4 separate regions of the Homo sapiens genome follow, and all the other regions are linked to region 1. Evidence: promoter capture Hi-C in human tissues and cell types (Jung and others, 2019). All regions are on one chromosome and are shown on one strand. Each heading gives the region's core, a stretch centred on a gene start or on the middle of the fragment in contact. The rest is flanking DNA. Distances are from core to core; before and after follow the strand shown.

What was found. Contacts are between HindIII fragments. The study calls those that stand out against the background at their distance.
Region 2: a contact is called between a fragment that was not itself captured here and the fragment with the promoter of CBLN4 in region 1, in 5 of the 25 tissues and cell types used here (dorsolateral prefrontal cortex, hippocampus, lymphoblastoid cells and 2 more).
Region 3: a fragment that was not itself captured here is called in contact with the fragment with the promoter of CBLN4 in region 1 in 3 of the 25 tissues and cell types used here (dorsolateral prefrontal cortex, mesendoderm cells and stomach).
Region 4: a contact is called between a fragment that was not itself captured here and the fragment with the promoter of CBLN4 in region 1, in 2 of the 25 tissues and cell types used here (dorsolateral prefrontal cortex and mesendoderm cells).

Annotation. Positions count from the first base shown.
Region 1 is chr20:56,003,946-56,007,105 of GRCh38, forward strand. CBLN4 (cerebellin 4 precursor) reads right to left here and starts at 1,574. Exons shown (of 3, transcript NM_080617.6): 1 at 1-1,574. The coding sequence starts at 226. The HindIII fragment of the contact is 15,736 bases long and covers 1-3,160 here.
Region 2 is chr20:56,113,208-56,116,367 of GRCh38, forward strand. No RefSeq gene overlaps it. Among named protein-coding and RNA genes, the nearest start is that of CBLN4, 110 kb to the left of the region's middle. The HindIII fragment of the contact is 6,021 bases long and covers 1-3,160 here.
Region 3 is chr20:56,088,522-56,091,681 of GRCh38, forward strand. No RefSeq gene overlaps it. Among named protein-coding and RNA genes, the nearest start is that of CBLN4, 85 kb to the left of the region's middle. The HindIII fragment of the contact is 4,002 bases long and covers 1-3,160 here.
Region 4 is chr20:56,072,331-56,075,490 of GRCh38, forward strand. No RefSeq gene overlaps it. Among named protein-coding and RNA genes, the nearest start is that of CBLN4, 68 kb to the left of the region's middle. The HindIII fragment of the contact is 4,553 bases long and covers 1-3,160 here.

The sequences.
Region 1 (3,160 bases), core at 324-2,823:
CCGCCGAGAAGGCGACCTTGGAGTTGGCCGCCCGGACCGATATCCCCAGCGGGGAGGAAGAGGAGCCCTTGGAGTCCGTGGCCGGGTTCGAGTCGCACACCACCAGACACTTGCCCTCCAGCACGATGGGCTCCGTGTCGTTCTGTGCCCAGACGGGCAGCCCCGGCAGCGTGAGGACCAGCAGCACGGCCGGCACCGCGGACAGCGCCCGGCGCCCGGAGCCCATGGTGAGCCGTGTGGGCAGCCGCAGCCGGCTGGCGCTGGTGCTCGCCCGCGTCGCCTCCTACCCCGGGATCCCGGTGCTCGGGAAGATGCTAGCGGCTAGGTCGACAGCGCTGCAGGAGCGACGGCGGCGGCGGCGCGCACACTTCCACCAATTCTGTGGCTTGAAGTCAAAGTCTCCCCTCGAGCTCTCTCGCTGGCTCTGTTACCTTTGTCCTTTAAGGAGCTCATGCAGCACCCTTTACCCTACTCTCCTCCGCCCAAGAATCAGCCCTGCCTGGGGCCCCTGCACCCACTCTGGTTCCTAGACATCTGAAAGTCATCAAACCCTCACATTCACACCTCAAGGCAAAAAATAATAATAATAATAAATTCTCACCCCAAACTCAAGCACCACCAGCTAAACCACGGAGCAGGAACAAAAAGAGGGGACTCAAAGAGAAGCCACAAGGGTGGCGGGTGCCCAGCGGCGCGGGTGCCAGTCCTGTCTGGCTTGCGGCAGGGACGAGTTACAGAGGCAGAAGGTCCTTCCCAGGCTGAGAAGAACGCGAGGCTGTGTTCATGGCCAGGACGCCAGCGACTCCCACTTTCGCCTGGTCAAAAAAATCCCCCAAACCTGGTGTCACCCAGAGGTAGGGAGGGAGGCAGCGGCTAGCCAGGTCCCTCGCACCGAAAGCGCGGATTCGCAGGATCAGGTCCAGGGCGCCGGGCGCAGCGTTCAGGGCGGCTGGTCCGGCGGGGTCCTCTCCTGCCTGGCCGCCCGCCCCCAGTCCCTGCGCACAACTTTCTCGTCCCTCGTGCAGCCCGGAGAGCGCGAAGCGGGCACACGCGCTCTATTTATAGGAGCGCAGCGTCCGGCTGGGTTGGCTTATCGCGCAACCCGCGGGCTCCGAGAAAAGGGGGAGAAGGCGTCTGGTGACCCCATCTGAGCAGCTCTCTCCTGACGTTTAACGCACCCCAAAGCAAGCGGGGCGCACAGCACTGGTGATTGGCAAGGTTCGAGGCCCCTCAGCCCCTGAAAGCCCGTGGCGTAAAGGATGCGTGCCCAGAGAGGAGCCCACGGCCCTGCGCTGGCCCCAGCTCCGCGCCCACTCTCTCCTGCTCGATCTGAGTCCGCAGAGGAGGCGGCTGGTCCCCTCACCCCTCCCAGCGCGGAACTCTGCCGCCGAGTGCCCTCCAAGCGGAGCGCGGCGCTGCCAGGCCGGGTCGCGAAAAAGGATAAGCCGCCGCGGACCCGCGCTGCGCGCTGCCCCGAACCTGGGGACCGGCGGGCGTCCCGACCGCGCCTGGCCGGGAGCCCGCCCCACACAGCCCTGGGGCCTGGCGAGCTCAGGGAAGCCTTGGGGCGGACCAGAGCCCGTGGGGGCGGCTGGGAGGAGGTGCCTGATTCCTTCCTTCCGCTCCGGGAAGATGAGCCTCAGAAGCCGCAGGGGCGCGCCTTCCCCCCACACCGCGAATCCTCCCCAGGCATGGCCAAAAAAAAGAGTGGGAGAGGGAGTTAACTCAGCAAGAATAAGTCCTCCGAAACCGTGCCAACAACAATAAAAAAATAAAAATAAAAATAAAAATAAAAGACAATCCCACTCCTAGGAATACAGCATTTTTCTCCCCTTTGGATGCGCTTTCCGCCCCCGTGCCACTCCACTGCTATCTTGGCCTCTGATTTGCAAGAGTTCCCTTCCTCTTCTGCAGCTACCACGGGGAAGGGAGGTTTGTCTCTGTCTGGACCCGGCTGCGTGAACTTGGCCGAGTCACTAACCCTCTCTGAGAGGGGGGCGCGGCGTTAACTAAGGTCCTCCCCACCCCCATCCCGCCAGCTTTCCAATTCTGTGATGCTGTGGGGTCATGGCGCCCCTTCCCCAATTTCTTCTACACTTCCAGCTGCCAGAGGGCAGACACGTATGGTATCTTTAACCAAAACAGTATCCCCTCCAGGCATTCGGAGCTCCTAAAATGGCATTGGCTAGTTATGAATGGAAGGGATGTTTATTGAGGGAGGTCCTTGGGATGGACGGCTCCCATTCCTTCCTGAGTGAAGGACGCCCTCATGAGCGTGGCATTCGAGCCCTCCACAAAACAAGGTGAACCTCGTCTCCAGCCTTTTTCCCTTCCTTCAGAAGGGCCGGGCATTGAGCTATAAGCACCAGCTCCAACTGTTAAAATTGAAGACACTACGAGGAATCCCCTAACCCTCACCTCCCTATAATCTCTCAACTAAAGTGTTAATACTTGGTGCCACAGGGGCCTTCAGATTCTGCTCCAGTGGGGCCAGTATCAGGTGTTTTGACTTTATGATTTTATTTTACTTGTGGTGGGGGGTGGTCTCGCTATATTGCCCAGGCTAGATGCAAAACTACTGGGCTCAAGCGATTCTACTACCTCAGCCTCCCCAGTAGCTGAGACTACAGGCCGGTGTCAGTTCCGGCTGGCAGGTGCTAGTACCATGCTATTTGTTAAAATGTTGAAAGTTACCTATCTAAGCTACAACCAAACAAGGTGAACTAGTGCCTTCTGAAGATGGCCACCATTTACCCAGCTTTGATGCCCCACCCTAAGCCCAGCACAATCTTCACCTGATCCCTCTCTGCACTTTGTAACTCTCTTCCAGATTTTAGGGATGTCTGCCTGGTTAACAGCAGCAATTTCTTCTCATTTGATGCAGTCTTTTGAGGGTGGGTGCTGAGTTGAATTTAGTTCCTTTTATTTCCTGTAGGGGTAAGCACCCTGCCTTCCTTGTCTGGGACAGCTGTTCAATAACTAGAACTTTGGTTGTTCAATTTCAGGCTGGGAGAAGTTTGACAAAAAAAAAAAAAAAAAAAAAAAAAAAACTGTGTTGAATTGTTAAATAGAAAATAAGCTATCTTCCTCACCAATTCCAATATATTCTCTCTACCTCCTTTTCTTCTCCAGGCACTTCCTGCACGCAAGAACTGAGATT
Region 2 (3,160 bases), core at 447-2,946, 110 kb after region 1:
TACATTCCCAGAGCTTTATCCCGGCTGGTAAAAGGGCATTCTCCCACTCCAGCCCCTCCAATCCTCCTGCCTCACCTAAGAGGGGTAAAACATAGTTATGAAGGGTCATGGCTGCAAGAATATGGACTGGGAACGCTGCATTCAGGGAAGAGAGTAGGGGCTGAGTGAATAAAACTATGGAGAAACACTTGTGAAGGTCACAGCCCAGGAGACAGGTGCACTACAGGACTGGGATTTAACTGGTAGATTTTAGAAGTTTCCCCCTCCCCTATTACTTACTACCATGCCAACAGGACTCCAGTGTAATGATAGTGTGTTACAGCTAAAAGAGCTCCAAAACAAGGACTCTCTCTGAGGAGTATAAGCTTAAGAGGAGAGAAGAAAACAAGGACAAATTTGAAGCCTCTGGTATCTACAGTTACAGCAAACATTAAACACAAAACAGTCAGATTCTTATCCATATTATGACAAATCCACACAGTAAAGGCCTATTCACGTCAGCTCCTAATACCAAGAAAAGCATGGTCTGAAGAGTCAAAGCGAGTATCAGAACCAGACTCAGATATGACACCGATGTTGGAATTATCAGATAAAAAATGTTGAATAACTGTAACTAATGTGTTAACCCCTTATTCTCAAAAAAAGAAGACAACATGCAAGAATCAAATGGAAATTAAAAACACAGCACCAGAAATGAAGAAAGCCTTTGACAAGCTCATCAGTAAACTGAACACAGACAAAGAAAAAAATCAGCAAGCTTGAAGATAGGTCAAAGAAACTTCCCAACCTGAAATGCAAAGACAAAAGAAAATTGAAGAAAAAAAAAAGTAGAAAACAGAGTAAATACTGTGGTACAATTACAAAAGGTGTAACATATTTGTAATTGGATACCAAAAGGAAAAGAAAGAGAAAAAGGAGCAGAAGAAATAATTGAATTATGGCTGAGAACTCCACAAAATTAATGATAGACACCAAACCACACATAGAGGAAGCGCTGAAAACAACAATTGGAATAAATACCAAAATACGCACACACATGCACACACAAATACACACACACACAGGCATATCATATTCAAACGGCAGAAAATGAGAAACAGAGAGAAATCTCAAAAAAGCCATAGAGGGAGAAAGCATCTCACCTATGAAGGAACAAATATATGTATTACAGTAGACTTCACTTCAGAAACCATGCAAGCCAGAAAAGAGTGGAATAAAATATTTAAAGTGTTGGGGGGTGGAATTCTAAAATTCTATACCCAGTGAAATTATCTTTCAAAAGCAAAGAGAAATAAGCTTTATCAACAAATAAAAATTGAAAGACTTTATCTTCAACAGACCTGCCCTGGAAGAAATGTTAAAAGTTCTTCAGGCAGAAGGAAAATGATACAGATCGGAAAACTGAATCCACATAAAGAAAGGAAGAGCATCATAAAAGAAATAAATGAAGAGAAAATTTCTGGGTTTTTATGTTAGTCAGTGCTCCCATTGCTATAAAGAAATACCTGAGACTGGGTAATTTATAAAGAAAAGAGGTTTAATTGACTCATGGTTAGGCAGGCTGTACAGGAAGCATGATGCTGACATCTGCTCAGGTTCTCAGGAGGACTCAGGAAGTTTCCAATCGTGGTGGAAGCGGAAGGGGAAGCAGACATGTCACGTGGCCAGAGCAGGAGCAAGAGACAGAACGGGGAGGTGCTGCAGTTTTAAATGACCAGATCTCACAAGAGCTCACTCACTATTGTGAGGACAGTTCCAAGGGTGATGATGCTAAACCATTCATGAAAAATTTACCCCCATGATCCAATCACCTCCCACCAGGCCCCACCACCAACACTGGGATTACATTTCAATATGAGATTTGGGTGGGGACAAATATCCAAACTATATCAGTTTCCTTATGTTTAATTCATCTAACAGATAAGCATCCGTCTAAAGTAATAATAGTAACAATGTATTTGGTGATTATAGCATATGGGTAAGTGAAATGAATTATAGTAACATCACAGAGACAGGAGGGAAGAAATGGGCAAACTCTGTTATAACGCACATGAAGCATATACTGTTATTTGAATATGGATCTAGATTAGTTAAAATATGTGCATATATATATAATTCTTTTTTTGTTTTTTGTTTTTTGTTTTTTTATGGAGTGTTGCTCTGCTGCTCAGGCTGGAGTGCAGTGGTGCAATCTCGGCTCACTGCAAACTTTGCCTCCCAGGTTCAAGCAATTCCCTGCTTCAGCCTCCCAAGTAGCTGGGATTACAAGCACCTGCCATCACGCCTGGCTAATTTTTTGTATTTTTAGTAGAGGCAGGGTTTCATCATCTGGGCCAAGCTGGTCTTGAACTCCTGACCTTGTGGTCTACCCGCAAACATTAAATCTGTATTGCATATCATTTCCACCTGAATGTAAGCACCATGTGGCAGGGAGCTCATCTCACTCAGCTCTAAGTCTCTAGTGCCAGACACATCACAAGCTGCATGAAATATATGTTGGGTGGAATGCTTGATGGTTGGGCAGATGGACACTTGGATAGGTGAACAAATGAATTGATGATATGTGATCCATGCTCCCATGGGAATTCTAACACAGCAATCTCTAAATTTTTTTGCAGAATCTAATACCATATGATGTTAATAGCTGTGCCATGGTGTTAAAAGTTCTTCTATGCTCAAAAAATCTTTTAGAGAAATGCTCACTTAAGGAAATTAAACAGATTTCTTGACTGTGAGAGAATGGAGACCATGCACTTTTCTCTTCCTAGAATTTAGCACAGCTGTTATTAGGCACTCAGTAAGATAATGACACGAATAAAATCATCATAGAGTAATTCACTCGTATTCATTCATTCCACAGGTATGCATTCAGCACCCACCATATTACAGACACTGAGCCAGGGTATAATGGGAGCAAAAATGAACAGAGACTCTGCCTTCATGGAGGGTATAGCATGGTAGAAGACAGACATTATTCCAATAGTTTCACAAAGAATTGTAAAATTACAATGAAGGGAGGCAGGGGAGGGAGGGAGAGCATCAGGATGAACAGTTAATGCATGCGGGGCTTAATACCTAGGTGAGGGGTTGATAGGTGCGGCAAACCACCAAGGCACACGTTTACCCATATAACATATCTGCGTGCCCTACACATGTATCC
Region 3 (3,160 bases), core at 283-2,782, 85 kb after region 1:
TGACAAATTATGCTTTAAGTTATGTCTCGGGCCTCATGACAGCTGAGTCATGCCATCAAGAGCCTGTAGAGTGGGAATGAGTCCCAGCCCTGAAATATCAGCATGTGTGGGTGGTTTCTGCAGGAATCACTGACGAGCACCTGTTAAATATTTTACTTTTTCTTAGACAAGCTTCAGTCACTTACTTTTAGGAAGTCTTAAAGTCTCCCTACACTTAACAAAAGACCACATAGAACTTAGCCACCACCTAGCATTGTTCAGATTGCTTCTTGCACAACTGCAGGGACTCCTATTACTCTATAGACACTGTACATTTGTACAGTTACAAGTTTTCAACAGACAACAACAAAGTATATTGAGAAGGGGACACCAGTTGAAATTTTCATTAGACTTTTAGCTGCAGAGAAGTTTAAAGTGGTTGATATGTCAACTGAGTATTCCAGTTATTCCATAATAGAATAGAGTCATCTCCCTACTAAAAGCCATCCTGTCTGTCCCTTTTGGGAATTTTTTTCAGCTCTGGGAACTATCCCATGGATCTAAAAGCAGCATAAGCCACATACTACAGTGGCTGAGAATATGGGCATTCATTTCAGCCAAAATGTGTTGTAACCCCAGTTCCCCCATTTATTAGCAGTACTACCTTGGGTAACTTACTCAACCCTCTGAGAATTCTCTTTGTAGAATGAGAGTAAATCTACCTGTTTAAATGGGGTTTTGATGAGGTTGGCATAAGATAATATATGTAAAGTGCATATATTACATGCCTAGTAAATGATAAATAATATCAGTATCATGAATTACCATTACATACCATCATCAGTATTGTTGTTATTGGCAATAATGCATCTAACCATTAAAAATCCTCTAGTACAACACTGTCAATTTTTGACAAAGATAGAAAGTTCTTTATATTTGCTGTCTAATATGGTATCTACTAGCTACGTGTAGATATTGAGTACTTAATGCTGGATAGCAAAGCTACAACAAGGATTACTTATTGGGAAATCTCTCAAAAATTTTGCTCGCCATGAAGTGAAGAAACTCCCAAGATCAAGTCTGCGAAGGCAGCATCTTCACCAGGAGAATTAATGAATGATCCTTGGTCCTAAACAGATGATCTGTCCCAAGATACTGCTTGGCCCATTTACTCACCTCATTTAAACCCTACTCGCTGGCTCCTCTGAAGAGGGCCTTTCCCTGACCACCAACCATCCCACCCCTCTCTGTCACTTGCCTCTACACACTGTATTTCTTGGCCTCTCTGATGCTGTATCTTTATTAGTGGCTTTGTTCAAATCTGTGCCCTGCTACTCGCATGCAAACTCCATGAAGGTACGTTTCTTATCTGCTTTGATCACCGGTTGATCTCAGTACCAAGAATGTGCATATTGTAGGGTTTCAGTAAGTATTTGTTGAACTTAATTAAACAGGTTATCTGAAAGAAGGCCAGAGGCTGATCTTTTATAAGAAGCAGAATACTTTTGTAAAATTAAACACTCCCCTCTTCCAGTCTCCAACCCCCAAGCCCTACATGTTCAGACAAGGGCCTGGGATTCTCTGGAGACCACCAGTACCAGCTCTGTAACTCCCAACCCACAGGTCTCAGGCGAGGCACTTCATTGCCAGTGTGGAGAAAGTGTTTTATATTCTAAACAAGACCCAACATTTAACAACCTCCTGTTCTTCTCTCTCAATAGCTTACTCTCCTTCCAGCAAATGTGATTAAGCATTCACGGCCATGGGTGTACATTTTTATTAGGGCTATGACAAGTGATTCAGAGGTAATTAAGCAATGGAATGTTTCACACAATGCCCACTTCACTTAAGGAATAAACTCTACACGTTGTTGGATTAACTGGAAAAAAAGGAAAAAGAAACTATTCAGAAAGCATCAACTTCTATAAGGAACTATTGGCCCTATTTTGGGGGTTTTCATAAGAAAGTGAAATTTTTCATTTATATAGAAGCATGAGGAAGAATTTAAAAGTCCATGTAAACACACACACACACACACACACACACACCAGTCATTTATTGCAGCCTGTTTTTTTTTCTCTTTCTGCAAAGAATCACCATCTTAAGTGTACAACCATAGAAAAATGAGTAAATAAATTGGAGAATATATGGAATTTTATGTAGCATTGAAAAGAATGAGGTAGAATGATATACGCTTAGATGGGAAGATGCTATATTAATATGACAAAAAAGTTGTAGTATAATTATTTTAAAAATAAATGTCATTAGTATATGTTTATATGTGCATTGAAAAATTCTTTAAGGACATGTCAAACTGTTACAAGTGGCACCTAGGAAGTGGATTTGGGCCTGAAATTACAACAGGCTTGTATTATTTTTGCAATTATAAAATATATTTAAACATTTTAATTTTTTTAAATGAGCTAAAAATTTTTTTAAAGAGTCAAAAAATTACAGGAATAGCCTGATAGTTGCAAGGGAGCAGGATGGCACTGACAAGGTATTTCCTCTTCACCCTTCCTATCCTCAAGCCCCATCACACACACATGCATGCACACACCCCATTTCATGAGGTGTTGAAGGAACTAGTGACACTCAGAAAAACTGTTACTCAATGTTCTTAAAGAAGCCCATGTCTTGCAGAATAAGATTCCAATTATGCAACTTAGAATCACTGACTATTTTTAATTGAATTGACCAATTTCCATAGTCAATTACACAAACTAGTCGTTTTGATATTACAACTTCACTGTGAAGGTCTCGTGACTATTTCACTCTTGACCCAGGTAGTTGCCCAGAGAGCTCCCTACAGATCTCCCTGTCTAAGCCTCATCCAGAAGGAAAGCTTACCAGGGTAAGGCTTGAGACCATGATTCTACTCAAAAGGTAAATTGGTTAGCATCATCTTTTGAGCTCAAGAAACCCCAAGATAACACTGACAACCACGATGAATTTCTTCTAAGCCAAGGTGCAAAGTGAGATGGCACAATGTGAAGCGACCCTTGTGAAAGAATAATAGCCACAACAAAAATAACCAGAAGATATTGAACAGAAAGTGTACATCTTTCTTATGTCATCTTTTGAGTTCAGATTCCCTTTTATTTTCCTCTCTGAACAGTAAAAGGTATACGCTATCAAAACAGGGATGAGAAATTTTAAGAGACTGAGATTTTTAGCAGAT
Region 4 (3,160 bases), core at 187-2,686, 68 kb after region 1:
GGGTAACTTGGCCCAAGTCCCATCCCTAGTAAATAAAAGAGCTGGAATTTGGACCCAGTCTGTCTGAATATAAATTCCTTTTTTTTTAGCTTTGTCACACCATAAGATGCCACATTAGAGAATCATTCCTATGCTTAACTCATTCTTGATCACAGGAGCCAGTGTGGGAAAGTGGTGACAGACTGGGCTTACTGCTTTGAAATAACAAATTTGGTAAAAGTCAAACGTGGTTATGAAATCCAAAGAGACTCGTTGATTAATGAGCAAATCTTCATCAATTCTAGATTGCACGTGAATAGAAGCACACAAATACACACAGGCAAACACTACGATGGGAGCACAAAGCCAATGAAAGAAAAGCTGCTCTCCGACTCCTCTCAAGTATCTTCTCTGCCAGTGTTTCCCTAGAACACGGAGGTTTGATTTGCATTATGTTAAGGAAATTTTTTTGTGATTTCACTCCCCAAAAAGTGTTCTCTGATTATTTAAGACTTACTACTCTGCTTTCTAGAAAGATTTAAAACACATGCAATTTGAACTTCCCCTATGTCGTTACAATCAGGCCACAAAGAATTTCCCATTTTGTATTTTAAACCATTAGATTAATAGTTTTTGATCTCAAATATGCACCACATCTGAGAAAGTATGTCATGCCTCCTTGGAAATAATAATTTTCAGGGGCTCCTCACATCATTCAAAAGACCAAAGCCTATTATTCAAAGTCCACCACTATTCGATCTCAAACCACACTCCCCAACCTTTCTCTCCACAACCAAATTACTAACTTGTTTCTCAAAGCCATCCCACATATTCTCACCTCTTCATCTGACTCTCTCCATTTATCCTGCCTAGTGGGCCTCCCCTTTCCCTCCTCCATCCTCCAGACTCAGCATGTATCTGAAGCCCATCATTCCACGGGAGCTCACCCCAGTGAATCCAATAGACACTGAACATAAGTTTGGCCCATTCATTGAGCAACTATTAATTCAACAAGTACTTACTAAGTCTCTCTATGATAGTCAGTGATCTGTTTGCACACATAAGCTTGTCTGCTCCACTAGACTATAAGCTCTTTGAAAATAAAGGTATGCCTTATTTACCTCATTAACTCCAGAATAACACCAGGTCAGGCACCCAGCACACTTTCAATAATGTTCACAACACAGTAATATTGCAGACATGATTACTTTGCTCTCTACAACTATAAGACACTGGAACTCATCCAAATGCCCAACCACTGAAGAATGGTAAAGTAGATTAAGATACATCAAGAAGCAGAAAATTAGGAAGTATGTAAGCAATCATTACAAACACTATGGCTCCTTCTCCTCTTGCAAATCATCCACACCAATTCCCATTCTCTTCACTCTGGAAAAACTGACTTCTCTTAACTCACATCCTCACTATACCCAGGACAGACTTTTTATAAGAACATTCACAGCATGCTAGAATTACATTCTTATGGGGAGAAGTATAGATTTGGACGAGATACCTTCATTAGCCACTTGAATAAACGATGAACCCCAAAGAGCATTCTAGGTTATTAAGAAAAGACTGTGAAACCACCTTCTAAGGAAAATCGGAGACTTTGGGTTTGTAGAAATATGGGCATTCAAGTTTGGTAGTAAAGCTGAACTGCTCAGATAACAGAAAAAAAAGACCAAATGCTCTGTAAAGGAAGCATGAAGGAGAAAGAAAGAAAAATGCCAGTAAGGATATAGGAGAGAGAAATTATGGAACTCAATGAGATGTAGTGAAGGTTTTGAGGAATTTATTATCAGGCATGTGATGGAAGGCTAGCTCTCCATTGGTCTCTTCTGTTTCTGCACTGACCTTTGTCTCAGACTGTCTTTCCAAGGACACTTGTATAGCAAAGAGCTTTGGAAGTTAGAGGCAGTGTCTCCTTCCAGAGCAAATGGCAGATTTGTTCATTTCTAATATAAAAAAGACAATGTTTACCCCAAGGCAAATATCTGGCAGGCTTATTGCCCATTAGAAAATATTCAAGTTTCAGCTGAGCATGGTGTTTTGGGCCTATAATCCCAGCTACTCAGGAGGTTGAAGCAAGAGGATCACTTGAGAGACTAGGACTTCGAAACTAGCCTGGGCAACACAGGGAAACCTCTCTCTTAAAAACTAAAAAAAAAAAAAAAAAAAAAAAAAAAAGCCAGGCATGGTGGCATGGTGAAGCCTGTAGTCCCAGCTACTAGGCAGGCTGATGTGGAAGGATTACTTCAACGCTATAGTGAACTATGATCACACCACTGCCTCCTGCCTGGGTGACTTCATCTCTAAAAAAATTAAAAAACTAAATTCTAAAAAATTCAAGTTTCCTAAATTTGGTATTCTTCTCTTGTAACCAATGTGCTGCATGTGCAGATGTTATCTGGCTCTCTTTGTGTCACCCTGTGGGATTTGGCTCAGGCAACAAAAAAAGATGCTGATACTCTGACAATTATTATTGCTATGAATAACAAAATGCCTTTTGTCTCTGACCCAGGAGTTTCATGTCTTCTGCTAGCATCCACGAAACTGTGGCAGGCCACACAAAAGTATAATGAGATCCAAAGATCTTGAAAGTGTGTTGACGTAAACACTTTCTTAAATCTAGCCTATGAAATCTTAAGTAAGTTTTGCATTGTTTACCAATGTTTCTGTTGTAGATGGCTTGTTTTGGGAGAATGCAGAGTTTCTAGAGTCAGTGTCTAGATTGATACATTAAAAAATCAGAGAAATCACCATGTGGACAGTGGAAGTAGACCTTGAGGATACACTTAAATAGTTGAGAGATCTTTCCTATTCTGAGCTTCGTGAAGGAAGAGATCATATTCTGTCTACTTTACAGCCCCTGTGTTAGCCGAGTGCCTGACTTGAAGTAACATCACACCCAGTAAAGGCTGGATGATTGAATGACTGAATGGCATAGGGCACCATGCTTATAATGCACCCTTGATAGTCAACACCCAAACTGTTCCTTTTAAAATATGAACCTGGCCATTTCACTTCTCTTCCCTCAACTCTTAGACGACTTTCTGTCATGCTTAGGATACAAGCAAAAGCTCTTCTTAAGGCCTCCAAGGACCCATATAATCTGAGCCTTGACTCTATTCTTCTCCCACTTATGTCCTTGCTCCCTGCTTGCCATATTCTTCCCTTAGAC